Regions from separate parts of the Homo sapiens genome. Here regions 2, 3, 4, 5, 6 and 7 are each linked to region 1. The links are contacts of gene promoters, found by promoter capture Hi-C in blood cells and fetal thymus (Javierre and others, 2016). All regions are on one chromosome and are shown on one strand. The core of a region is centred on a gene start or on the middle of the fragment in contact, and the rest is flanking DNA. Distances in the headings are between cores, read along the strand shown. Region 1 holds the start of ECRG4 (ECRG4 augurin precursor). Region 2 has its middle 38 kb from the start of LINC02946. Region 3 has its middle 20 kb from the start of LINC02946. Region 4 has its middle 52 kb from the start of CD8B2. Region 5 overlaps LINC02946 (long intergenic non-protein coding RNA 2946). Region 6 has its middle 14 kb from the start of LINC02946. Region 7 has its middle 52 kb from the start of LINC02946.

Evidence for each region. The method cuts DNA at HindIII sites, captures the fragments that hold promoters and counts their contacts. A CHiCAGO score of 5 or more calls a contact.
Region 2: a fragment that was not itself captured here is called in contact with the fragment with the promoter of ECRG4 in region 1 in 11 of 17 cell types (non-activated CD4 T cells, naive CD4 T cells, naive CD8 T cells and 8 more); the score reaches 21.4 in non-activated CD4 T cells.
Region 3: a contact is called between a fragment that was not itself captured here and the fragment with the promoter of ECRG4 in region 1, in 14 of 17 cell types (naive CD4 T cells, activated CD4 T cells, non-activated CD4 T cells and 11 more). The highest score is 19.8, in naive CD4 T cells.
Region 4: a fragment that was not itself captured here is called in contact with the fragment with the promoter of ECRG4 in region 1 in 5 of 17 cell types (total CD8 T cells, total B cells, naive B cells and 2 more); the score reaches 8.1 in total CD8 T cells.
Region 5: a contact is called between a fragment that was not itself captured here and the fragment with the promoter of ECRG4 in region 1, in 6 of 17 cell types (total CD4 T cells, M1 macrophages, non-activated CD4 T cells and 3 more). The highest score is 7.4, in total CD4 T cells.
Region 6: a fragment that was not itself captured here is called in contact with the fragment with the promoter of ECRG4 in region 1 in 6 of 17 cell types (activated CD4 T cells, total B cells, total CD4 T cells and 3 more); the score reaches 8.9 in activated CD4 T cells.
Region 7: a fragment that was not itself captured here is called in contact with the fragment with the promoter of ECRG4 in region 1 in 3 of 17 cell types (naive CD8 T cells, activated CD4 T cells and non-activated CD4 T cells); the score reaches 6.8 in naive CD8 T cells.

What each region holds. Positions count from the first base shown.
Region 1 is chr2:106,063,928-106,067,856 of GRCh38, reverse strand. It overlaps ECRG4 (ECRG4 augurin precursor), which reads right to left and starts at 2,169. Exons shown (of 4, transcript NM_032411.3): 1 at 2,014-2,169. The coding sequence starts at 2,092. The HindIII fragment of the contact is 9,592 bases long and covers 1,246-3,929 here.
Region 2 is chr2:105,570,265-105,574,193 of GRCh38, reverse strand. No RefSeq gene overlaps it. Among named protein-coding and RNA genes, the nearest start is that of LINC02946, 38 kb to the left of the region's middle. The HindIII fragment of the contact is 5,756 bases long and covers 1-3,929 here.
Region 3 is chr2:105,588,386-105,592,314 of GRCh38, reverse strand. No RefSeq gene overlaps it. Among named protein-coding and RNA genes, the nearest start is that of LINC02946, 20 kb to the left of the region's middle. The HindIII fragment of the contact is 3,593 bases long and covers 139-3,731 here.
Region 4 is chr2:106,537,330-106,541,258 of GRCh38, reverse strand. It overlaps a transcript of CD8B2 not described here. Among named protein-coding and RNA genes, the nearest start is that of CD8B2, 52 kb to the right of the region's middle. The HindIII fragment of the contact is 1,663 bases long and covers 1,447-3,109 here.
Region 5 is chr2:105,605,341-105,609,269 of GRCh38, reverse strand. All of the region lies in intron 1 of LINC02946 (long intergenic non-protein coding RNA 2946), which reads left to right. Among named protein-coding and RNA genes, the nearest start is that of LINC02946, 3.3 kb to the left of the region's middle. The HindIII fragment of the contact is 801 bases long and covers 1,268-2,068 here.
Region 6 is chr2:105,622,731-105,626,659 of GRCh38, reverse strand. No RefSeq gene overlaps it. Among named protein-coding and RNA genes, the nearest start is that of LINC02946, 14 kb to the right of the region's middle. The HindIII fragment of the contact is 1,396 bases long and covers 1,191-2,586 here.
Region 7 is chr2:105,660,291-105,664,219 of GRCh38, reverse strand. No RefSeq gene overlaps it. Among named protein-coding and RNA genes, the nearest start is that of LINC02946, 52 kb to the right of the region's middle. The HindIII fragment of the contact is 1,910 bases long and covers 985-2,894 here.

The sequences.
Region 1 (3,929 bases), core at 920-3,419:
TCTCAAAAAAAAAAAAAAAGTTTGGAGGTGGCATAAAGAGTCACCTTTGGGATTACATAAAGATTTTCACTGTAGGCTGGGCATGGTGGTTCATGTTTGTAATCCCAGCACTTTGGGAGGCCAAGATTGGTGGATCACCTGAGGTCGGCAGTTTGAGACCAGCCTGACCAACATGGAGAAACCCCATCTCTACTAAAAATACAAAACAAAAACAAAAACCTTAGCTGGGCGTGGTGACACATGCCTGTAATTCCAGCTACTCGGGAGGCTGAGGTAGGAGAATCGCTTGAACCTGGGAGGCGGAGGTTGCAGTGAGCCAAGGTCACGCCATTACACTCCAGCCTGGGCAACAAGAGCAAAACTCCATCTCAAAAAAAAAAAAAATATTTTCACTGTATAAGAACTTTCACATCCCAGCTCGGTGATGATATTTTAACTGAGTTATTGGTATAAACTAAATAAAATACAAGTCCTGAAAATAAATGGCTTGTAGCCAGTGCTCACTTGACTTATTCAGATGTGCTTTTTTCTTCTTCTTCTTTTATTTATTTCTTTTTTTATTTTGCGACGGAGTTTCACTCTTGTTACCCAGGCTGGAGTGCAATGGCACGATCTCAGCTCGCCGCAATCTCCTCCTCCCAGATTCAAGCAATTCTCCTGCCTCAGCCTCCCGAGTAGCTGGGATTACAGGAACGTGCCATCACGTCTGGCATTTTTAGTAGAGACGGGGTTTCTCCATGTTGGTCAGGCTGGTCTCGAACCCCCGACCTCAGGTGATCTGCCCCCCCCCCCCCCCCGGCCTCCCAAAGTGCTGGGATTACAGGTATGAACCACCAAGGCCGGCCCAGATGTGCTTCTTAAAGTGGCAAGAACAAAGAGTGGGAGGCAGGTAAACCATACAACGGGAAATGACTGATTAGCTTCGCCTGTGATTCTAAGGTGGAACAATAATCCTCCCCACCTGAACAGACCTCACCACGCCTCCTGCTGTTTTAGCAACCCCGGGGCTCCATCCCAGGGCTCCTACTGAATGTCCCCTGCCTCTTCTCACCTCGAGTTCAGTTTCCATACCTGTTTCGAATGAGCAAAATACAGAAACTGAGCAACCGAGTGAGCCTCCCTTTTACATTAGGCAGTGCCCAGCTGCTTTGCAGTGGGACAGCGCCAGTCTCAGGCTCTTGGGCAAGTCACTTCATACACCAGTAACTCTGAGGTAACAATCCCTGCCTCCCCTAGTTGTAAGCTTCAAAGGCAGTCATGTGTCCTTGAGGCCACTTGTGAACCATAAATGTTCCTCCTACCCAGTGAAGGTGGTAACTCAGGACAAACCACGGCTTCAGATTATGGTTCCTAAAGTGGGGCCTGTGGAGCCCAGCGATCAGATATCGGAGCACCCATCATTCTGGGTGTGCGTGTGAATGCACGTTTTACAGAGAGCGAGCAGAGAATTTCAGAGTTTTCAACCGATTCGCTGGGAGCTCCACGAAGCAGGAAAGATTAAGCATTACTCCTTTAAGAGCCTTTCCCCTCTCTGGGGTGTGAGGCCTGTGCCCAGCTTTGCAAATTGCAACTTGACCCAGCTGGGAAGCGCAAGTCAACTTGGTTGCTAAGCGACTGCCTGGAAGGGAATGGCGGTGATGGTGCCATTTGCCTCCTCTGGGTTACCAGCTGCGTAAAGCCCCCACAACCCTTTTGCCCCTTACGTTAAGCCACGAAACACTACTTGCCCACCCTTCGGACGCCTGGCCCTCCTTGCCCAAGGTTGCCCGGGAGATCTGAGACCCTCCCCTTGACCCCGGTACTCTCTCCACCCTCACAAGGGCACCACTTCGCACTTGTGCGAGTGCAAAACCCCAGACCCGGTCCTCTACCACCCCTTGGCCCTGCCTAGGCTAAGGATGGGTCCCTACGCCGCCACCCCATCACCGATCGCTCTCCCCGGGCACCATGGAAGCGCCACATGGGGCCAACCCCTGGTGCCGCTATCAATCAGCCTGGCATCGCCCCGCTCACCTGGGCCCCAGCACAGGAGCAGGAGCAGCGCCAGCCCGGTCAGGGCCAGGACAGCAGGCCGCGCGGGGGAGGCAGCCATGGCGGCGGGGCGCGAGCAGGAGGGCGAGGGGCGCACTTCGAGGTGCTGCGAGGGAGAACCGGGCGCGGGAGAGGGGTGCGAGCGGGCAGGCGCGGCCGCGGGTTATCCCTGCGTCGCTGCCGGGGCGGGACCCAGCGGGTGGGCGCCGCGCCAGAGGGCTGAGGGCCAAGCGGCTGCGCCCAGCGCACGGGCGAGTACCACCGAGGTCCTCTCTCCCGCCCCGGCCCCAAGGGGAACGCAGCCCCTGGGCTCCAAGGCCAAGGATGCTTGGCCACGGAGAACCGCCGGCGGCGGGGGCCGCGTGGCCAGCGCTGCCCGCAGCGAAAGCGGTTAGGACAAGCTGGGTTCCGGAGACCCAAGGAAGGGCAGAAGGCATCGGGAGAAGGGACGAGGCCCCCTGGCCACTCAGAGGGAGGACTTGCCGGATCCCAGCGCTGGGGTGTCTCCTTGGCTCCCCCACTTCCTCCGCCCGCCCCAGCCGCGCCACTGTTCCCCTTACTCCTCACCCCTTTCTTCCCTATCTCCCTCCCTCCCTGCTTGGGGGCCTTGCTTCTGCCTGGTTTGTAAAGTGGGCTTTGGAATTTCCTTAGTTCAGAGCTGCTCTTAAGGATGCCTTAGGCGGGGCTGTTTTTGAGATAGTTTGAAAGATTCCACAGTCTGGGTTCAGAGCTGCAGTCCGGGAAATCGTCTCACCCAAACTTCTCCAATAGAAAAGCCTTTGAGAAACCAGGAACCTGGTGCCCTGCAGCTGTGAGCAAAACCACTGCTTCCCTTTGCCCGCTCTGTAATCTGGGCACACTTCAGCGAGCGATGTTAAGGTGAGACCCAAGGGAAACGCAGAACTGCATCCCAGTAACTGGCCTGTTCAACTGTAGAGGACACGTGAAAGGAGGCGTAGTGAACAAAAACTAGAACAACTTTATCCCAACGGACTCTGAGCGGGTCACCTAATTATTCTCTCCAGGCCTGGGCTACAAAAGGATGGAGATGTGAGATTACCTTTCCTGTCTTCCCATCTCAGATCTGCCCTGAACTGAGCTGATTACCTCTTTCCTTCACCAAGGTTCTCACTTATTTTCCCCTCCCTGAGACGGAGTTTCACTCTTGTTGCCCAGGCTGGAGTGCAGTGATGGGATCTCAGTCACTGCAACCTCCAACTCCGGGGTTCAAGCGATTCTCCTGCCTCAGCCTCCTGAGTAGCTGGGATTACAAGGCATGTGCCACGAGGCCCAGCTAATTTTGTATTTTTAGTAGAGAAGGGATTTTACCATGTTGGCCAGGCTGGTCTTGAACTCCTGAACTCAAATGATTCACCCGCATCGGCCTCCCAAAGTGTTAGGATTACAGGTGTGAGCCACCACACCGGCCAGTATTTTTATACCCTCCAGTGGTAAGCACTTACTGTCTCTCCATATAATTAGCTCTCCATGCAATGCAGTTGAATTTCTCCAGCAGGAAGGAGAAAGAAGTCTTCTAACATTGAGCTAGTAAAGACAGATGGTGGCCAACCAAAGAAAAAAGTGCAAAGTGGGTCTGAGTTAGATCATGATACTGCCCAGGGTGTCAGAGAGAATCAGAAGGATAATGTTACACATCTAGCTATCTTGGGGAAGTGCTTCTAAACCCTTGAGGAAACTGTAGAATAGGGGATAGGAGTTTTAAAAGTAACCAGGCATATATTTACTTTTGCCTGAGGACAAGAAATTTATCATTAGAAAGAAAAATCAAAGCACATAAAAAGCCAATATTCTGTTTGGATTGGTTTAGAACATACATTAAACATAATGGCTGTAATCTTATTTATCCTGTGGAGATCATCCCCCTTACCCCAAATTGC
Region 2 (3,929 bases), core at 962-3,461, 490 kb after region 1:
AGCAGTGTGAGGTTCCTGTAGTCCTCCTGCGATAAGCTGGATCTTGCCTGCAGAGCAGAGGGAAGGTGGCTGGTAGGTCAGACGCCACCCAAAAAGCCTTGCTGACTATGCAGACTATCTAAAGCCATCACTCTGTGGTTGCAAATGGGAGAAATCCAGCTAAAAAAAAAAGACAAGAGGAATTGAGTGCTTATGTGGCTAAAAGTGTCATGACTTTAGGTGTGGCTGGATCCAGGTGATTGACAGAGGCTTGGAGCCAACATTTGCAGTTGAGGAATCCATCAAAATAAATTCTCTTTCCCTGCAGTTATGGAAAAAGCTATGATGCTTCCAATCAACTCAACTTCCTTGCTCCTTCCTGAACTATAATCATAGTGGATAGAGGGTGGTTAAGGGACTCTGTTTGGCCAGGCCTAGGTTACTTGGTTATATCCAGGCACAGGGTACATTCGTTTGCTAACGCTGCAAAGAAACAAAAACGAAAGCAAACAAACCAATCCCCAAAACCGGGTGGTTTAAAGCAACAGAAATGGATTGTCTCACAGTCTGGAGGCTGAAGTCTGAAGCCAAGGTGTTGGCATGGCCACACTCCCTCTGAAAGTAGTAGGGGAGTTCTTCGTTGCCCCTCTCTAGCTCCTGGTGGTTGCTGCAGGCTTTGGCATTCTGGGGCTTGTAGATGCATCATTTTAATCCTCAGTTTGCACATGGCCATTTTATCCCTGCGTCTCTTCACATTGTCTTCCCTCTCTGTGTGTTTGTGTCCAGATTCCTCCTTATGAGGACGTGAGTCATACTGGATCAAGGCCCTTTCTAATGACCTCCTCTTGACTTGATTACATCTGCAAAGACTCAATTTCCAAATACGATCACATTAACAGGTACTAAGGGTTAGGACTTGAACATATATTACTAGGTGTACATAGGGGAAGGGGAAGGGCACGATTCAACCAACAACAGTTGGTGGGAAGAGCTAAAACCCATGTGTGAAGTGGGCATGATAGTAACAGCACCTTCCTCACAGATTCGATGTGAGGAGTCAAAGCTCTTGCAAAGCCATCATCCCAGTGCCTGGTTCCTGCTGAGCACGTGATCAGTCTGGTTTTTGCTTGGGTGGTAACTTCTACAGTGGAGTCAAATTATACATACAAACTTGTGCACATTCAATTGCATGTGTGGAGAGAGACCAATTTAAATAAATTAAAGGGATTAAGAAATAGGGACATTTCCACCCCACCTCCCCCCATTCTACTCAGAGAGAACACTCAAGCAAGAGGAAATTGGAGGAGGGACTTTGCTGTTTCCTCAGATCGCCTTGGTCCCAGGCTCCCCCCATTGGGTAGAATGTGAGTCTAGGGTGGACAGAGGTCTCTTTTGTGCACATATGCCCCGAAATGCAGGCCAATGACATCACCTGGTGCCCAGGTTGGGAACAGGCTCTGGAGGAGATGCCAGTGTGCGGGGTCATGGAGCATGGCTCAGGGCACACCTCCTCAAACCGGCTGTAGTGAAAACCAGTGTCCTCCACCTCTCCCAGACCCCTGAAGGTCCAACAGTCCCTGACAGCACGTGACTCATACTGCCTGCATCTCAGCACATGCTGAACAGCACCTGCCCTGGTCTCAGACCCACCCACAAGCCAAGGCCACTGATTGCAGCTAGTGGCTGCTGCAGCCACGCCAAAGGCACAAGTTTCTACTCACTTGACTCTCATTTCTGTGCTTTTCTCATTGAGGGCTGGTAACAGACAGTCAGAGACCAGCCCTACCCATAGACCTCACTTTGAGGAGCCACGTGTCCTATTGAGATAACTTAGAGGGTATTCAGAATGGAGGCTGAATGAGACATCCCCCTTCCTTCACTCCTAAGCCCTACCCAAGACAGGCCTCCCCTCGGTAGAGAACACCACCTTTCCCTGTGTGTCTTCTTTCCAGTCCTTTCACCATTGGTTCTCCCTTCCTTAACCAACCTCTCTTCCCCAAATTCCCACCACACATCTCTAGCCTGGCCATCCCAGCCTTCTTGCCCTCCTAGCAGCAGAGTCATTCTTGCAGACATGACCTTGCCTTTTTCAAACTGTGACACAACCCAATATGACCAGACCTTGCTTTGTTTCATGGGGTCTTAAGTTTTAAAGAAATAAAACAGTGAGCCCGTTTGCTCCTTCATATAGGCTCTGGGGTCCTAATGGGAAGGGCTGGCAGGTGAGTGGGGAGAGGGAAAGGTGAGAAGGGGGAGTCAGCCTCATGGGGGGCATTGGGTAGGTGTAAGGAGAAAGCCAGTGGCCAGTGAGGACAGCCACACCTGCCAAGGACAGCCAGGAGGCCCCTCAGGGCTACCAGGGACACCTCAGCCTCAAACCAGGGCAGAAGAAGACCACACGTTTCTCTTCCTCTTCAGATCTTCCTCTTCTCAGCCGCGTTGTGGTAGTAATTGAAGGAGTTGGTGGTTGGTGATTACTCAGTGTAATGCTACTGATGAAATCGGTCATTCCGTGCCTGCCACACATCCAGGCCTCTCAGTTCTGACCCTGCTGCCCCAAGGCCTCCACAGGGACCCTTGGAATGTCCTGCTTTGCTGGCTTCCTGGAAAACTGGGGCTCTTGGTGACACTGGATCGCACTGGATCGCCCTGTATCCTTTTGTTCGTACTTCATATTTTGCAAGCACTGTGGCTGCAAGTTGAATGAGAACAATTCGAATGTCCATTGACAGTTGAATGGGAGAACAGAATGTGGTCTAGACATGCAGTGGAATATTATTCAGCCTTGAGGAGGAGGGAAGCCCTGACACATGCTACAATATGGATTAATCTTGAGGACATTACGCTGAGTGAAATAAGCCATCACAAAAGGAAAAATACTGCATGATTCTACTTGTATGACGTCCCTAACATCCCTAGAGTAGTCAGATTCACAGAGACAGAAAGTAGAATGGTGGGGGGTGGGTGTCGGGCTGGGAGGAGGAAGAAGGGGAGTTAGCATTTAATGGGTGCAGAGCTTGGGATGACAAAAATGTCCTGTAGGTGGATGGTGGTGATAGATGCACAGCAAAGTGAATGTACTCAATGCCACCGAACTGTATTCTTGAAAATGTCAAAAATAGAAATTGCATATTACATCTATTTTACCATAATTTTAAAAAGTTAAATTAACAAACACTTCATTGTGTTTGTTGTGCAGCTTTTAATGAAGACTCAGTCAGCACACATGGAGCACCTGCCTGGCCGCGGTCATGCCAACCCTGTTCCAGGAGCCAGCAGTGCAGCTGCAAGGCACCTTCTGTCCTGCAGGGACTTAGATTCCAGGGGAGGACAGGGGAGGAGGCAGAGAAACAAAAACAAGCAGTAATTTTAGGTAGCCATAAGTGATGGGTAGAAAAATAAGGCCAGGTAGGAGGCCGCAGAGGAAAGCTGGTAGGGGAGGGAGAGTATTCTTGATAGAGATTGAAGGGCCAGGAAAGCCCCCCAAACCCCACTCCAAGAGGTGGGATTTGAGCAGAGATCTTGGTGAATTTGGTGATGGAGGGGTGTGCAATCTGGTGCAGAGGCTCTGGGGGAGAGAATATTCAAGAACAACAGGGAGACCCTGTGATGGGACTCAGTGGGAAAGGCATGGAGTAGAAGGCGGTGGATCTGGAAGGGAGCGACACCGGGTGGTGTCGGAGCCTGTGCACCGCAGCGTGTCACCAGGTGTTGCTCTGAGGGGATGGGAAGCCCCTGGAGGGTGAGCATGCTCACCTATGGAGCCGCAGGGCTGAGTTAACAAGTTTCTTCCGGCTGCTGTTTGTGGCCTCTGCTGCAAGGAGGAAGAGAGAAGGAGCACTGGAGATGCATTTGGGGGTTGGTACAATGTTCAGAGGATGTTGGCAGTGTGGGCCGGCATGCTGGGATGGAGTTGGTAAGAAGGGGTTGGTCACAATATATTTCAACAT
Region 3 (3,929 bases), core at 686-3,185, 480 kb after region 1:
GGTCACAGAACGGCAGACCAAACTGCCCCACTGAGTTTCTTTTTTAATTACACAGCATTTTAGTTAGTTATTAAAAATAAGAAATGCATTAATATGTTTCAAAAATCAATACTTACAAAAGGATATTTGCAAAAAGCTTCCTGGTTCCCCTTCCTGGATTCAGTCAATGTTACCAGTTTCCTTTATATTCTTAAAGATATTTCACGAACATGCAAGAAAATATGTACTGGTATGCACAAATGTTCTTTTCACTTTATTGTATATCTTGAAGATAGATTCATATTAGCATGATAATAGCTATGCCCTTTTAAATAGCTGCATACTAATCCTTTGTACAGACTTACCAACATTTAATTAACTAGTCTCCAATCGATGACCATTGGGTTGTTTTGCATATATATGAGTATATCTGTAGGATAAATTCCTGGAAGTGGAATTGCTGAGTCAAAGGACACATGTATTTATAATTTTGGAGGGCATAAACAGAGCAGTTTTTAAAAATTGGATCTGAATCTGTGTTGAATATCTTCATCTCCGGGTCTTCATGTCCTCACACTCCCCATTGTCCTACCTTTGCGTTACCTGCCTCCTTACAAAGGCACTGAGAAAAACCCCTCAGGTTTAATAGTGAGAGGACCTGGGTTCAAGTCCCAGCTTCCTTACCTAGCTGCTCTTTTCATCCGCAAGACAAACACATCATCATAGGAACCATTCCGGGTGTGTTCAAGATAATTTACTAAGGCAGTGTGTGCAAAAGCGTTGTGTGAAATGTGAAGGGCTTTGTGAATATACTCTTGATGGTGATGAAAATACAACTGAGAAGAAAGAACAGTGTCAGGTGTGAGGGTGTGTATGTATTTTTAGTGCCATGACAGCTTTTATCTTTGGATCTCATAATGCCTTTATAAATATTTACTTGTAACCTACATTTCATTGTGAAACAGCTGTCAGCATCATTATTTTCATCTTACAGAGGGACAGACTGACATCACCATGGTTTCTCCTGGAGTTTCTCTATTCAAATAAATCAACCCACATGAAGAATGCACGTTAAGTTTAGCTAAAAAGTAACTTTCTCTATCGAGCATGTGTGGAAACCTCAGCGATTGTGGCATTCTTCTCATCTGCTTCTTTGATTTATGTTGCTGACACTGTTAGTTGTTCATCCAACAGCTTTTCTTCTACTCCTTCTTCCTTGCTGGTTGTCTTAATCTGTTCAGGCTGCTATAACAAATTACCATGAACTGTGTGGCTTATACCACAGACATTTATTCATCACAGTTCTGGAGGCTGTGAAGTCCAAGATCAAGGTGTCAGCAGATTCAAGATCAAGGTGTCAGCAGATTCAATGTCTGGCGAGGACCCATTTCCTGGCTTACGAATGGCCTTCTTCTCATTGTATCCTCAATGGCAGAGGCCAGAGAGACAGCAAGCTCTGTGTCTCCTCTTATAAGGCACTAATCCCATTGATAGGACTCTATTTTCATGACTGAATCACCTCCCAAAGGCCCCATTTCCTAATACCATCACCTTGTGGGTACGAGCTTCATTATATAAATGTGGGGGACAAAAACACTCAGTCTAAAGCACTGATGGAGATAACCTCTCACTGTAAAGGCTGAAAGCACCAGATACTCGGCCAGGTGCATTGGCTCACACCTGTAATCCCAGCACTGTGGGAGGCTGAGGCAGGAGGATCACTTGAGGTCAGGAGTTCGAGACCAGCCTGGCCAGTGTGGCAAAACCCCATCTCTACTAAAAATACAAAAATTAGCCAAGTATGGTGGTGCATGCCTGTAGTCCCAGCTACTTCGGATGCTGAGATAGGAGAATCGCTTGAACCTGGGAGGCAAAAGATGCAGTGAGCCGAGATTGCGCCACTGCACTCCAGCGTGGGTGACAGAGCAAGACACTGTCAAAAAAACAAAAAACAAAAAAACAGAGACTCTCTTCCCTAGCCTCTCTTGCAGCTAGCTAGGTGATGGGCATGAGAGCCAATCAAGGCCAATGGATGTGAGGGTGTGTCTGCTGAAGGACTCCCTAATAAAATGAAACAAGCAAAAAGAGCCTCCTTTCCTGCCTTTTGGTGGACTTGTGTGAAGATTGTGCCTAGGGCAGTGGCCACCATCTTGTGGCCATACTGGGGAGATTGGGGAGGGGTGGAAAGGACAAAAGAGAAGAAGCACCCCAACCTCCAGGACTTTTATTACATGAGATAGTAATAATCTTTATTTTTTAAGCCTCTGGAAATTAAATATGCTGTTAATGGCCAAAAGCATCTAAATGATAGACTTGGTGTCCAAACCCACGCCATGTTTTGTGCATATGAGCTTCTGTATCCAGTTCTTCAGATGAAATGGTTTCTGAAGCAGTTGGTTTTATAAGGCTCTAATGGAGATTTGTGTGGGGTGAAGGAGGGAGCTTGACCCAAACATGTTAATGACTGCCAACCACAGACAGTGGCACATGTCTCTGTCCCAAACTATACCATTTCCACTCATGTCTTCTGGTCTGGATGTTAGATAACCTCAACTTTTCCCCAAAAATAAAGCACCACATCTAGGAATTCACTAATGGGTACACTGTTTCATCCATCAAGCAAATATTGAATGCTTATAGTAGACCAGGTGATGTTCTAAACACTGGGGACACAACTATGGTAAGTCAGATATGTTGCCCTCAGAGACTTGTAAGTTGGTGGGAGAGACAGGGAGACACATAGGAGACAGGGAGACACGTAGATGACATGGCCAAAAACCTGATTCAGATCAGTTCAGGATCTTGGCAGAAAGCAGTTGGCACATTCTGAAAGTTTCATTGAAGAAAGTTTCATTAAACAACTCTTCAGATGGGTTTAATGGAACCAACAAAGGATGGTGACTCGTATATGTGGGAAGCTGTTATTGCCTTGGGCCTGAAGGGGCAGAAGAAAGGAGCAATGTTACTGGAGCCCAGAGAGAGCTTGGGGCCAGAACAAGTGGAGTTGTAACCTGTAACCAAAGAGGCAGCCACTGGCTACCCAGCTTCCCCACCTCTGCCACCACCCACTGAATCTAAGCCCCCAACCAGAAGGCAAAGGGCCAAGGAGCCCAAGAGAAGCAGCCAAGGAAGGTTCAACCCCTGGGGCACAAGGGGCAGGGAAACACTGAGAATGAGTGCATGGTGGGGCACATGGAAATCACCAGCACAATACTAAAAACTGGTTTTGTTCCCTAGCTCTTGTTTTTGTCAATATTAACTATAATAATTGCTTATTTCAATTTTTCTAAAGTGAGCACTCTTTCGGACTTCTGTTTTTCACACAGCTTTATTTCAGGCCTTGTTAGAAGAGCCATTCAAACGGGAGCTGAAAAACCATTTGAATCTTTGAGGATATATAACTGCCTATACATCTTCAACTCTAGGTTAATTAAAAATTCACAGAATTCAGTGAGAGTGGCAGGCCCGAGGGAAAAGTCATAAGGATTAAAGAGATTTCATCCCCTGCATGTGCATGGAAATTATGCATGACTCCTAGGTTGGGAGTTTGGGAGGCAAGGAAAGGATGTACTTAACCTGATTTAGCTTTAGCTCGGGGATCTCGAGTAGAGCACACTCCTCAACAGCGAACCTCATTCACTAACCTGAGATCAAAACATGAGGAAGCAGAACACTTAACTTTTAATGAACTCTAATCTCTTTAATCAAATTTATAATTAATTCTCATGCTACCCTGGCTAACATTGGAAGCTTTATTCATTAACTCTAATTATTATCCATATTTCCTGCCCTAGAAACATACTCATATACTTCCTACTTTTTCAAAGCCGTAAAGCAGTAGCATAATTGGAGAGTGGTTGTTGTCCAACCGAAGTGACAAGTTCTCAAAAGCGAGGTATCTGCATATCACTCGGAGGACAAAAGTGTCACTGAAAATTCCCATCCACCTG
Region 4 (3,929 bases), core at 1,029-3,528, 470 kb before region 1:
AAACTGACCAATTTTGAGCATGAATGACGGAGAGGGATCTAGAGTTAGTGGGAGGTCCTAGTGATACACAGATACAAACAGGCATGCTGCAGACCTTGTCACACAGCCAGCGTGCCACCGTGGCCTACCTCAAACCACACCTGCCTGCCTTCCTCTGCCCCAGCCCACCAAGCCTGCCCACCACAGGGCCCTTGCACATCCAGCTCTCTGCAAAACTCTTCATTCCCTCTCCTCCTGCTGGGCTCCTGTGGACCATTGAGTCTCTTAAAGGTCATTTTCCCCAAAAGGCTGTCTCCACTCCCCCAGCCGAATGAAGCTCCCCTGATATGCCTTCAAGACACCCGCTAGTTGTCACTTTGAATACTTACTGCAAAAGGTAGTTATAAGAGTATTTGGGGCCGGGCACAGTGGCTTGCGCCTGTAATCCCAGCACTTTGGGAGGCCGAGGCAGGTGGTTCACAAGGTCAGGAGTTCGATACCAGCCTGGCCAAGATGGTGAAACCCCATCTCTACAAAAAATAGAAAAATTAGCCTGGCGTGGTGGTAGGCGCCTGTAATCCCAACTACTCAGGAGGCTGAGGCAGGAGAATCACTGGAACCCAGGAGGCAGAGGTTGCAGTGAGCTGAGATTGCGTCACTGCACTCTAGCCTGGGTGACAGAACAAGACTCCATCTCAAAAAAAAAAAAGGAGTATTTGGATGATTATTTGCTTGATTTACTTTTTCCCCCTCAAGACTGTGAAAGTCCTGAAAGCAGGGGGTTTGCCTGCTTGGCTCACCCAGAACAACAAGCCGACTTGCTAAATGAGGGAGTGGTACTGCCAGTTGACTTCATTCTTGGTCCTATTTTTATCTGTTTTGAGATTGACATTAATGCGCCTTTGGTGGGCTGGTCTCCTAGGGCTAATTGTCATTTCTTTGCAGTAAGAAATGTTGAAAAGCTTTTTAAATAAAATAATGAAAATACGAATTTCTCACAAAGGCTGAGTTTCTAATAACATAATTATTCCAACACTCATCTTGAGACCACATAATTAAGAAACAGTAATACTTGGATATTTTTTTTAATTTGAGAGGTCTACATAAACGATTCTCTGCATGATTCTTTCTTTGATCATTGAAGCTGTCATTTTCTTTTTTCATTCTTAGGAAATCATTCCACATAACAAAATTGAATTTCTTTCAAGCCATAAAATTATTGGAATATAACATCCACCCTAACTTCATCTACATAACATGAAGTATATAATTTCCACTCAAAATTAATTCTCAATGTAAACAAGAATAACAATAAACCAAAATTCACTTATGTTTACTATGAAATAGATTTAACGATCAGGAAGTCCCATGACAAAAAAGGGAGATTCAGTGACGGGAACAGTGATTAAGTTAGCCAAGATGCTCAGCAGTAGGAGAATACACTTTTTTTTCCCACTTGGCAAAGCTTAAATAATTTTTTAAGTGTCAGATTCTGTTCTTATTTTATCAGCCAAAGGAGGCTTGGTTTCCAAGCCGTGTATCCGTCAAGAAATTGGAATTCAAGCAAACACATATTTTGAAGTTTGATGCATTGAAGCCAAACACTGTAGAGACAATGATAAATATGATATGGTCCATCTTAAAAATGTTTTTGGTGTTTGTGTGAAACATCCTGTAAGCTGGAATTAAGCAGCAAAGAGCAATGATGCCCAGAAGCTGCAGCCCCGTGTGGCCCCCTAATTCCACAGTAAGACCCCTTATTTGTCTTCAGAATAAAAGATGAGCACACCGCACACATGGTATTGTGTCCCAAGTACATCAACTTTCCATGTTTTGGCGTGGAAACAAGAAACATCTTTACTTCAATTCCATAAAGTAGTTCTCTAAATTTTAGAAATATAAATATGTTTGCCTTTTGGGACCAATATATATATTTCCCCTTGAACTCACTTATTCATCCATTTATTTCACAAATTTATAAGGAGCTTGCCCTGTGCTAGGTGCTGTGATACCTGCTGGAGACACAGTGGTGAAGAGACACAGGAGGTCTCAGCACACAGGTGAGACCCACACATGGGCCCCGAGTGCTGTGGGGGCACCAGGCACTCTGCTAAGTGCTTCATGTGCCTCACTCATCAACACAGCAACTCCATGGGGCAGGCACTGCCCTGGCCCTGAAATGAGTGAGGCCAAGGTGTGTAAGTGAACACGTGTTCACTTGCGCTGTGACCAGGTAGAGTCAGAAGTTCAGCCAGCACACACCAGCTGCAAGAACCCGGCTCTGAAGTCCTCATGTGTCACTAGTTCATGAGCTACTGATCACACACATGCAGTCACACAGATAAACAGTCACACCGTGCACAAGCTCTGGGAGGGGGACACACTGCATATGAGACTGTTTCAGATGGCAGTGCCCGGCCTGATGAGGAAGGGCAAGGAAGGCCCCCAGGGGAAGCCTTGAGGCAGTGTGGAAGGGTGGGTGGGTGGAGAGCATAATATGAAGAGGGAGGGGTCCAAGCTCAGCACAGATGCCAAGAGCCAGACCTTTGAAAATATGTGGCCAAGACCCAGGAGTGCCTGGACACACGGAAGCCAGCTATTACCAGAGATAGTGACATGCAGGTGAACATCTGGGGAGTAGGAGGTGGGGAAGGGTGTTACAGACAGGAATTCCTACTCAGGACACTGCTCGGCTCTAGATAGCGCAAAGGTGAATTTTCCAAGGTAAATGCACTTTGTGAGATCTCAAGTGCCACACAGATTCACAGTCACCCTTATTACAACATGGGGAAATTTTAATCACTGCTAATAGTAGATGCTCAAGTCCTAAGATCTTATGAAACAAGCCAAGAAAGCTACTTCTGATCAATTTTAAGAACAAGTAAAGAGAAAAGCAGGCCATTTGTGTACCGTTTCAAGCAAAAAGCAACAAGATGAATATTCTTCATGTATACATAGCCTACATAGGCTGAAGGCTCCATCTCAAAATTCCCCTTCACAGCCTAAACCTTCCTCAGCCCCTGAGTTGACCACCCTGCCTATACCGTATTTTCCCGTTTCTCAAATCACTGGCAAGTGTTATTTGGGAATTGAGTCATATTGGCTAGTTTTGTGCCACCATGAGGAAGCTTGCAAGGTCTTTGGTAGTCAAGCTGATGACTTACGCTTCCCTAGACCAGCAGCTTTGTCTGGGCACACCCAGATGCGTGCAAACACTTTGAGCACTGAAGGTCCGCAGGCCTCCGCAATCACTGAGCATTTGAGACTCCTCTGGGGCCATGCATCCACCAGCTCTCAGCGCAGGTCAGAAAAGGAGCCTCACAGAGACTTCTCATTTATTTTACATTCATTACCCTGCTAATTTCCAAAGCGAGGTGCCTGAAGCTAGCTTAGCAACAAGCAGGCGTGACGGCTGTCCCACGGCTGATTCTGAATGTGCTTTGTCAGTGTGTTTGTTTTTCCTTCGTGCTAACTTTATCTTCAGAACCTATTAAGTTTAATCCCAGCAGTACTAATTAGAGGTGGCAACAACAGAAATCCTCTGCAAGGGCTTTTAGAAATCGACCGCCACTTCAGTAAGAACAGCCATGCTCTTCTTTTCATTCCTTGTCGCTTCCTCGGGCATTCCACAAGGAGCTACAATCTGGTGTTTAGAGAGCTGAAGGGCACTTATAGAACCAAGCTCTACACCAAGTAAAAAGAGATTTTAAGCATATGTGGATTCAAATGAGAAATCTGTGCAAGTGTGCCACACACCTCTCTTAACCTCATTTGGGGATTTCTGTGCATACTGTACTTAAAATTAAGTAAGATAAGCTGTTTTTAAGATGTCGTGTCTTGGTGGCGTTGAACCATAATTTTCTGCCTCCTCAGTGGAAGTTCAAGCTTGTGGTCATACAAGGAAATGTAAACTCTGAAACTGAAGAGCTTCACTAGGACTACTAGGGAAG
Region 5 (3,929 bases), core at 419-2,918, 460 kb after region 1:
CGTGGCTCCCTACTCCCACCCTTGGCAGAGTTGGGGACCCCCCTTTTCATGCTTATACATGAATATATGTTCCTGCCAGGAGCTCAGAAGTGCTGCTGGGAATAGAGGAGCTTGAGGTCATTGACCTCCTGGAATCCCAGCACTTTGGGAGGCCAAAGCAGGGTGACTGCTTGAGCCCAGGTGTTTGAGACCAGCCTGGGCAATGTGGCAAAATCCTGTCTCTACAAAAAAAAAAAAAAAAAAATTAGCTGAGTGTGGTGGTACGCATCTGTGGTCCTAGCTACTTGGGAGGCTGAGGCAGGAGGATTGCTTGAGCCCAGGAGGTTGAGGTTGCAGTGAGCCGAGATGAGGCCACTGCACTCAGCCTGGGTGACAGAGTAAGACCCTGTCTCAAAACAAAACAAAACAAAAAGAAAAGAAAAAGAAAAAAAATCATTGATCTGAAAAAAAGGTGCCCAGAATAAATCATAAAGGGAAAAGGCAGGTTTCAAAGTGCCATATGCAGTACAATCCAATCCTCGTGAAGAAAAAAAAAAACTGTGATGAAGAATTTGGAAATGTATACAGCAAAATCTGTGATCTTTATTTTTCTTTTAATAAAGCTATTCCTACTACCTATCCTCCCCCAAATAATTCTTTCATTGCCACTGTAGTAAAATATAAAAATAGGTATCAATAGATAGCAATTGAGTGTATTTCACAACAACGAGAGGTGGGCAACGCCTGGATGGCCATGTCTGAGGAGCATCACGAATAGGTGACTATGGACCTGCAGAGGAGAGGTTGGGGAGGGAGAGCATGGTATGCAGACGTACCTTCTCCACCCTGATTTGAGGTCTCCTCGGTAACCTGGGTCATAAAACAGAGTATTAATAAAGTTGGTGGATGGAAGAGCAAGAGCACAGGAAGGAGGAGCCAGAGGCAGTAAGGTCAGCTGTACACTCGCCAGAGAGTAAGTGCCAACAACTGGCACAAGCATGAACTGGCAAACATCAAGCTGGGAGTGTGGCGTGAAGAGAGGGGGCAGAGCAAACACAGGCTGCAGTGGACACATACACATATTTCTTGACTATGAGGATGAGTGAAAAGAAGAGGCTGGCAATTGTATGATGGTCTTCTGTCTTCATGCCAGATGGGCCAGGGTTCACCCAGGGCTGTGGTTTAGAGTCTTATAATCAAAGCAAGTGATAACACCTAGAGTGAAACCCCACAGGGCTGGGAGCTGCAATAGTGACATGTGAAAGCATAAGCTCTGGGGCAAAAAGCTTTTCCATCTCAGAATTTCTACTTCTTTTTTTTTTTTTTTTTTTTTTAAGATAGAGTCTCACTCTGCTGTCCAGGGTACAGTACAATGGTGCAATCTCTGCTCACTGCAACCTTCACCTCCCTGGTTCAAGCAATTCTCCTGCCTCAGCCTCCCCAGTTAGCTGAGATTATAGGAGCCCACCACCATGCCCGGCTACTTTTTGTATTTTTAGTAGAGATGGAGTTTCACCATGTTGGCCAGGCTGGTCTCGAACCCCTGACCTCAAGTGATCCGCCCGCCTCAGCCTCCCAAAGTGTTGGGATTACAGGCATGAGCCACGGTACCTGGCCTAAAGAAGCCTTTCAAAAATATCTCTGGGTCCAAAAAGCCTTTTGGTATCTTTTTTTGAAAAAAGCCTTTCAAAAGTAGTTCTGGGGCAAAAAGCCTTTCAGTATCTTAGTTGAAAGGAGAAAAAGTCAGGTTGGGACACTTAATAAAAATATTTAAAATAGGACAAATGAGTACAGAAAATAATATACTCTCATCATACCATTACCCAGATTTAGTAAATTAGGTTCAGATATTTTTTAAGGAATGGAAACTACAGATGCAATCGAATTGCCTTTGGCTTCTTGATGTCATTCCCTTCCTTCCCTCACTAGGAACTAACTATGCAGAGGTTAGTGAATGTTCTTCTTGATTATGTTTTTATACTTTTCCTATAGATAATATTGACATGTTCCTCAGACACACAAATATTCTTGATGAGATATAGCAGGATATAATAGTGTTTGCATAAAATAATGGTGCTTGCAATAAGCTTCTCTCTTGTGGGCAATATTAGTTTGGTTTTTTTAAAGTTCTTTATATCCATGAGGAGGGGAAAAAATCACATTTTGAAGAGAAGCCTTACCGATTCATAGATTTACGAGTTAAAGGAGATAAGAGATTCCTTTTGCAAAAGACATAATATACCAATTTTAAATAATTGGTTTAACTGATATAATTTTGCAACTTGCTTTTCTCCCACTTGACATTATGTTTTTGACATTCATTCATGATGAAGTATGCTGCTTTAGTTAATTAACTTTTAATCCTGTGTGATAAGTATAGTATTCTACTGTATAAATATACTATAATTTACCTATTTACTGTTAATGGACATTTTGATTTTTGCCTTTTCTTCTGATATAAGCAATGCTACAATGAGCACTTTTATACATGTGCCATCATGGCCAAGTGTGAGTTTCTCTAGCATGAACCATGAAAGCAACACTGCTCGGGTAGACGATACATACTCATCTTCCCCTTAACCATCTATTGCCAAATTGTCTTTCAAAGTCTTGAGCCAGTTCACGCTTCTGCCAGCAGTTTGTGAGTTCTCATTTCTCTACATCTTCATCAATACTTTTGAGTATAAACTAAAATAACTCATTTTTCTTATTACTAGTGAATAATCATGTTTTCATATATATAGGCTATTCAGTTTTTCTTTTCTGTGTTTTATCCATTTATATCCCTTGCTCATTTTTTCTATTGGCCTGTTTATAGCTTACTGATTTGTATGAATTTTTTACACATACTAAGTTCTAATCCTTTTCTGGTTATCTAAATTGCAAATCTTTTTCTAACTGGTGACTTGCCTATTCACTTTGTTTATGGTGGCTTTTCATATGATAAATTTTGGGGCCAGGTGCAGTGGCTCATGCCTGTAATCCCAGCACCTTGGGAAGCCACGGCAGGAGGATTACTTAAACCCAGGAATTTGAGACCAGCCTGGGCAACAAAGAGAGACCCTGTCTCTACAAAAATAAATAAATAAATAATAAAAAAATACAACATTAGCGTGGCATGGTGGGGCACTCCTGTAGTCATAGCTACTTAGGAGGCTGAGGCAGGAGAATCCCTTGAGCCCAAGGGTTTGAGGCTGCAGTGAGCTGCCGTCACACCACTGCACTCCAGCCTGGGCGACAGAGCAAGACTCTGTGTCTAAAAATAAAAATGAATAAATAAATAAAGTTTACCTAATTGTAGTCAAATACATCAGTCTTTCCCTTTCAGTTTTGGGTACATGTATATGGCATAAAGAGATTTTTTTTTTTTTTTCAAGACAGAGTCTTGCTCTGTAGCCAGGCTGGAGGTCAGTGGCACGATCTTGGCTCACTGCAACCTCTTCCTCCTGGTTTCAAGCAATTCTCCTGCCTCAGCCTCCTGAGTAGCTAGGGCTACAGCTGCTCGCCACCACACTGGCTAATTTTTATATTTTTAGTAGAGACAGCTCTTTACTATGTTGGCCAGGCTGGTCTCAAACTCCTGACCTTAAGTGATCCGCCCACCTCGGCCTCCCAAAGTGCTGGGATTACAGGTGTGAGCGATTGCGCCTGGCCTATATTTTCTTGCATTTTCTTCCAACTGTTTTAAAGTTTTGATTTTGCATTTAGATTTTTCATACCTCAGAAAGTAATGTATTTTCTCCCGCACTGAGTGTTAATTTTCCAAGCACCGTTTGCTGAGTAACCTGTCCTTTCTGCAATGTATCACGCCGTCTCTGTTATAGCCCGAGCCTCCATATGCCTGAGGCTGCTTTCAGATGCTCTGTTCTGTTCTATTTCCTTTTTCTGTATACTTTGCAACATTTATTTTTTTGCAGGGCAAGTCTCCCAACTATTTTCTTCTTGAATTT
Region 6 (3,929 bases), core at 639-3,138, 440 kb after region 1:
TGCATTCCACACCTGAGTTTCTATTATTTCAAAATGAAAACAATGTCTTTGTTTTTCATGGGCCAGTAGCAAATCCCCTGTTCTAAACACTGGATCCTTTTTTGTTTTTGCATTTGGAAATGGTAATGTAAGCTGCGAGATGATTTGTAATCCTTTATTTGAATAACATTCAAATAGCAGAAGGGGCTTACTTACACCACACACTGTGTGTATGCGAATCGGGTTCATTTTGCATTTTCTACAAAAGAGACTTTTCAGAGTTCCAAAACAAGCAGGCCTGTTCTGTGACAGCTATTAGGCCATGAGCCCGTGAACCTCTGCTCAGCTGCCTTCAGTGCCCAGTCCCAGAGCGAGACCTGAGGAATATTTTGGACTTAGGAATTACAGGTGCTGTCTGAGCAGACTTACATCCCAACTTCACTCCCCACATAGGCTGGCCAGGAGTGAGTGCTGGCCCCCATCCCGTGAGCCTCAGTCTTCTCTGCATGAGATAACAATACCTGGGAATATAAGGTTGTTGAAAAGACTCAATGAATGTGCAAAGCACGGTGCCTCGCAGATACAAGACCTTCAGGAAATGAGTTTCCCGGACTTCCATTTTCCAGATTTCAGCACTTCTTCCCCATCCCCAGTGACTGAGTGCCCACCTCCTTCAACAGATAGTAGTAGTCAGTTCTAATTTTTCCAACTCGGAGGTCATAAACATTAACTGTGCTTAACGTTTAGGTAACGTTTAACTCAAGGGAAAGCTTGTTGAACAGTAGTGGTTTGGGAGCACAGTCTCGGGGGAGAGGACGCTGCGCTGGAGGGGAAGTGTCTGAGCTTGGCAGACATCACTGGGTGGTTTCTTTCTCCTTCTGTCAGTGGCTCACTTGGCACCGCGTGGAGTGTGTGTAACCGTGGCCTGTGGTCTCTTAGGCAGGGTCCTTTGGGAACGAGGAGGGTTAAACAAGGTTGCACTGGCACGTCCAGCACTCTCTCAGGAAGATCACCTGCATGCCCTACAGATGGCCTGCTGACACCATCTTCCTGGAACACACAGCACATTGCAATAAAACAAAAAACTAATGACCTGAAAATGGGATTTTATTTCTTCTCATTCTGCCTAGATGTTTCTAACTAAAACAGTTACTTCTACTGTGTCTCTCTCTACAAAAGTCTCCATCCACTAGTCTTAAATTCTGTAAGCTTTCCATTCCAGCTTAAGCCCACTCAAGGCAGGCATTTCCAGCTCTGGGTAGTTTATGGCACCTCTCTCAGCCTCAGTTTTCCCAAATAAGGCTGTGGGGCTGGGGCCACCATTTTGGAGGAGGTTCCAGTGCTTTCGATCTATGATCTTTTGACTGGATATACAGGTTGAGCATTGGATGAGGAGCATTCTTGAGCTAATGACTTTTCTTGACTTTCACAGATTAATAAGAGAGATGGAAGATTGTCCAAACTCAGAGAAACTTCTCCTCCTCTGCTCACAGAAGCACATAAACCCAAATGACCACATTTCCATCTCAGTGACTGCTCTTGTGTTTTCCTTCCCCTAACCATCCACCTAGTGAGGAACCAGAGCCAGCTGCCAGTAAGAAAGCAACTGCACCCACATTCCATCAGGCAGGAATCCTGCAGACGCTGTCTTTGCATCTCTCTGCATATCTTGAGAAAAGTCCAGGCTCCCCCCACAAGCCTGTGCCTGTGTGTGTGTTCATCTCTTTCTCATGGTGGGTAGGCAGAATCATGCCCTCTTTACTCCCACCCCCACAAATGTCCACATTCTGATTCCCAAAACCTGTGAGTATGTTCCTTACATGGCATACGGGACTTTGCAGATATAATTACGTTAACGACACTGGAGATAATCCTGCTTGGGCCCAAAATATCACAAGAATCTTTATAAGGGACAAGAAGGAGGCAGGGGGGTTAGAGAGAGATGTGATGAGGGAAGTACAGAGCCAGAGAGGTGGCAGCAGGAGGAGGGCTCAGCCAGGTGTTGCTGGCTTTGAAGATGCAGGAAGGGACCATGAGCCAAGGAATGCAGGCAACCTCTAGAAGCTGGAAAAGGAGGGGAAACAGATTCTCCCCTAGAGCCTCCAGAAGGAACAGCCAAGACCTGGATTGTAGCCAGCTGAAACTCATATCAGACTTCCGACCCCCAGAACTATAGGATGGTAAATTTGTGTTGTTCTAAGCCACTACATTTGTGGTAATTTATTATAGTAGCCATAGGGATGAATACACTCCTCCAAAATGAAATTCATAACATCTGTTCAATAATAATATTTTTAAAAGATAGCTATGGCCCCAGAAAATTTCAGTGCTCAATCACCAAGCCCAAGAAGTATAAGTTTAGTGTATCTATTCCAAAATTGTTTTTAAAGAAGATACCAACATAAAGATGGAATAGGGAACATGCAACGGGTCACATGGTCAATTAGATAGCACACTAGTTCCAGAACTTGGGCTGCAGGCTCTGCTGGACTGTCTTTCAGGAAGGACGGGCTCAGTGCCTTCTGCCTCATGTATTTCACCCCATGGCTTCTATTGCACACACACACACACATGCACACAGCCTAAAAATGAAAGAGGATAAAAGCTTTCTCCAATATCACCCTCAAAGTTAAAGCACTTCTCTAAACAGAATGATGCCTAAATTATCCCCAAGTTTCAGTCTCATTACATTAAAAAATTATTTACTGGGTTAAGGATCATGTTGGTCCTATAAATACAGAGACCCAAAAGATGGTCTCCAACTTGAACAGATCAGCCAGGTGGGTTGAGAAGAAGGAGGAAAGGATCATCTTTGTCTTCTTCCAAAGGTGCTCAGAGAACAAAGTGATATGACCTGCTTGGATGAAGATGTGGCTCTCCTTGATTTCTCTAGGGACTTTTGTCTTGACCTTCCTGAAACGCCACTGTTTTGCATCTCTTATTATAAGCCCTATGATTCAACTATCACCTCTCGGGCACTGTTGACCTCCCCCACCCTAAGATCTCTTTCTCCCCATTCCCTGATGAGGCCTCAGGTGTGACTTTCACTGTTATGAATGTACCTTCTCTCTCAGAGTAGCCTGCTCTCCATGTCCATTCGTCCACCACTTCTTGTCTGCCACTTGTTTGTCAGTTGCTCTATGGATTTTTTCTTTCTTTCTTTCTTTTTCTTTCTTTCTTTTTTCTTTCTTTCTTTCTTTGTTTTTTGTTTTTTGAGACAGAGTCTCATTCTGTCACCCAGGCTGGAGTGTAGTGGCTTGATCTTGGCTCACTGCAACCTCTGCCTCTTGGGTTCAAGCAACAATCCCTGTCTCAGCCTCCTGAGTAGCTACGATTACAGGAATGTTCCATCACGCCCTGCTAATTTTTGTATATTTAGTAGTGACAGGGTTTCATCATGTTGGCCAGGCTGGTCTCAAACTCCTGACCTCAGGTGATCCACCCACCAGAGCCTCCCAAAGTGCTGGGATTACAGGCATGAGCCACCATGCCAGGCCAAGATTTTCTTTTTTTCTTTAGCTGAGAAAGAGTCCCATTCTGTCGCCCAGGCTGGAGTGCAGTGGCGCAATCTTGGTTCATTGCAAACTGTGCCTCCCAGGTTCAAGTGATTCTCCTGTCTCAGCCTCCCAAGTAGCAGGGATTACAGGCACACGCCACCATGCCCAGCTAATTTTTGTATTTTTAGTAGAGACTGGGTTTCACCATGTTGGCCATGCTGGTCTCGAGCTCCTGACCTCAAGTGATCTGTCTGCCTCAGCCTCCCAAAGTGCTGGGATTATAGGCATGAGACACCATGCCCGGCTATGATTTTCTTAAGCTCCAAAGTGTAAGCTGTATTTGACTCATGGCTTCTTATTTCAGGTTCCAAGTCCAGTGTTCTGTTGTGCATTTTTATTATCATCACATCTATTAAACATTTGTCAGTTGAGCCAGACATTGTGGTCCATCAT
Region 7 (3,929 bases), core at 690-3,189, 400 kb after region 1:
ATTAAATTCAAGGATTAAAAAATATTCAATTAACCCAAAAGGAGAAAAGAATGGAGAAACAGAAGGGCAAAAGTCACATGGGACAAATAGAAAATAAATAGCAAAATGGTGTACCTAAATTCTACTATGTAACAAATTAAATTTAGTGTAGTTAAACTAAACAGTAATTAAAAGGTGGATATTGTTGGATTGGATTTAAAAAAGGAAGACACAACTAATGGTACCTACTAGAAGTGCACTAAAGACTCTAATAAGTGGAAAGAAAAAGAATGAAAGAAAATATACCACACAAAAGCCAAGCAAAAAGAAGCTATGTGGCTAGAAGAATCACAGACAAAGTAGACTTCAACATAAGGATCATTACCAGAGATAAAGGGATACATTTTATAAGTATGTATGTATGTGATGATAAAGTGTCAAAATATATGATAGAACTAAAGAAAGAAATAGAAAATGCACAATTTCATTTGAAGATTTTTAACATCCTTTTCTCAGAAACTAATAGAACTAGGTAAACAAATCAATATGGACATAGCGGATTTGAACAACAATATCAACCGATTTGACTTAAGTTGACGGCAACGACAGAATATGCATTCTTTTTAAGTATACACAAAGTGTTTATGAAGCTAGATAATGTGCTGGGTTATAAAATAAAGTACAAAAATTTTCAAAAGATTAAGTAATGTTATCTAAGCACAACAAAATTAAATTAGAAATATGAAAATGAGACCTCTAGAAAATTCACAAATATGCAGAAATTAAATAGCACACTTCTACATAGCCCATATATCAAAGAAGAAATCACAAGAGAAATTAGAAAATACTTTGACCTGAATAATGATGAAAACGTGACATACTGAATTGGAAGAAGCATGACATATTGAATTGGAAGAAGCAGCTAACACAGTGCTTAGAAGATAATGTTTAGCTTAAATGTCTATAGAAGAAAAGAAGAAAGGCTTAAAATCAACAATCTAAGCTTTTGCTTTAAGAAGCCAAAATGAAGACTAAATTAAAGCCAAAGTGAATGGAAGGAAGGAAATCACAAAGATAAAAGCAGAAGTCAGTGAAATAGAAAACATAAATATAATAGTGAATATAAGCAAAGTCACAAGTTAGTTCCTGAAAAAGTTTAATAAGATTGATCAGCCCCTAGCAAGACTAATCATGATAAAATGTTACAAAACACAAAATTAAGAAAATCAGAAATGTTGTCATTATAGATCCTGTAGGCATTTAAAGGACAATAAAAAAATTATAGAAAACTTTATGTAAGTAAATTCAATAATTTGGATGAAATGGTCAAATTTCTTGAAAAACACAACTTGAAATAACTGACATATGAAGAAATAGAAAACTCATAATAGGGCTATAACTGGTGACCTTTCAAGAACTTGAACTCATAATCAAAATCTTTCCCAGGAAAAACTCTCCAGGCTCAGATAATTTCACTGATGAAGTCTATCAATCGGTTGATGAAAAATAATGCCAATTTTACGCAAAGTTTCAGAAAATGAAGAGAAGAAAACACTTCCTACTATACACTATACACTTGTGGGCTACTATAACACTAATACTCACACCTGACATACAGATCACATGAAAAGAAAATTGCAAACCAATATCCCTCATGAATATAAAAATGAAACGCATTAATAAAGTACTAATGAATCAAGTCCATCAGTGTTGAAAGAGAATTTATCATGTTCAAGTGGAGTTTGTCTTATCTGAATTTAACATTGAAAAATCAATCAATGTAACTTATCATATTGCAAAGCTAGAAGAGAACAATAGGTGATTACCCCAATAGAGGCAGAAAATGCAGTCAGCAAAATCCAAAACCATTCATGATCAAAATTCCCAGCAAACTATGAACAGAATTTTCTTAAACTTATAAAGGGCATTTACAGAAATTCTATAGATACTTAACGGTGAAATATTGAGTGCTCAGGAACAAGCTACCTTTGTATTGCAGGCCCTAACTGTGAGAAGACAAGAAAATAAAATAAGAGACCCAGATTTAAAAGGAGGTATGAAATTGATTTTAATCACAGATGATGTGACTGTGTATATAGAAAAATCTTTTGAAGTCTACAGAGCAACTGCTAGAACTAACAAATTAAGCAAGATCACAGCATACAAGGTCAATATACAAAAATAATTTTTTAATAAAATTTCTTTATGCAATTTTATTTCCTAAATAGATTCTATTTTATTTCTATATTAAGTCCCATCAAAACCATAAAATAATTCAGACTAAATTTAACAAAAGATGTGTAAGACCTGTACACAGACATATTGCTAAAATGAATTAATTTCTTAATTATTTTAATAACTTAAGTAAATTAAATTAATTACTTAAGTAAATGAAGAGATATTCCATGTTTATTATTTGGAAGTCTCATTACTGATGAGATGTCATTTTGATCTATAATTCAACTCAATCTCAATCAAAATTCCACAGAACTTATTCTAAAATTTACAAGTTAATTCTAGGCTTAGGGATTAGACTGGCCAAATTCTTGAAAAAAAAACAATGGAAGACTCATGCTATCTGATTCCAAGATAAAGCTACATAAATTATGTAGCTTGTACTCTGGGTAAAGCTACATTAATTAAGATGGTGTGATACTGGCATAAGGACAGACAAAGAAGTCAGTGAGCCCAGAATTAGACACACTTATGTAGTCAATTGATTTTTGACAAATGTGCCAAAACAATTTAATGAGGAAACAATAGCCTATTTAAAAAATGATGCTGCAACAACTGGATAAATGTGTATGTTATGTACATGTAGGGGGTGAGGGAGGAACAAGACTCCCACCTCATACCACGCTCAGAAGTTAACTTAAGAAAAATAGATCAAGCCTAAAATCTGTAGCTCTAAAGCTTCTAGAACAAAACATAAGATGTCTTCATGACCTTGATGTAGGTAAACATTTTTTAGAAAGGTCACTAACAGAACTAACCACAAAAGAAATATTATTTTAATTTCATAAAAATTAAAGACCTGCTCTTTACAAGATCACTAAAAAAATAAAAATGCGAGCCACAGACTGGGAGAAGATATTTAGTATATATATATATATATATATATATATATATATATATATATATATATATTTGACAAAGGATTTATATGTAAAGAACTCCTCCAAATCAATTTTTTTAAAAAAGACTAACAATTAAAAAAATGAGCAAAAGATTTGAACAGATACTTCACCAAAGAAGATGCATGAATGGACAGGAAGTCCATGGAAAGGTGAAATGTAAGTTTAAAAATCCACCACTTCATATCCACTACAATGGCTAAAATTGAAAGGAACAACAACACAAATATTGGTGAGGAAATGGAGCAACATAACTCTCATATTTTGTTGGTGGCAGTGCAAAGTGGTACAGCCACTTTGGAAGAGTTTATGACGGTTACTGGTAAGGTAAAACACCTCCAGCATGACTCAGTAAGTCAACTCCTAGGTATGTGCCTAAAAAAAAATGAAAACCAATTTCCATGAAGGACTTGTACAAAAATGTTTACAACAGATTTATTCACAATATCTAAAACCTAATAACTCAAATATTCGTCAAGTGATGACGAATGGACAAGCAAGCTGTTGTGCACTCACACTCAGCAATATTGAGGAATGAATTAGTGATTCATGCAATAACAACGATGACTCTCAAAATAATGATGCTGAACAAAAGGAGCAAGACATGAGAGTGTATAACCTTCACATTTCCATCCAAATGACATTCTACAACAACAACACAAGCTCTGTGAGTTGGCAACCATCGATTTACTTTCTGTCATCATAGTCTAGGATTTATAACAAGGGGATGTGGTGAATGAAACACCAATTCTATTGAACATATGATTTCGCTGAATTAGAGAACGACTTAGCTGGGAGTCTGAATGTTGGGAAGCG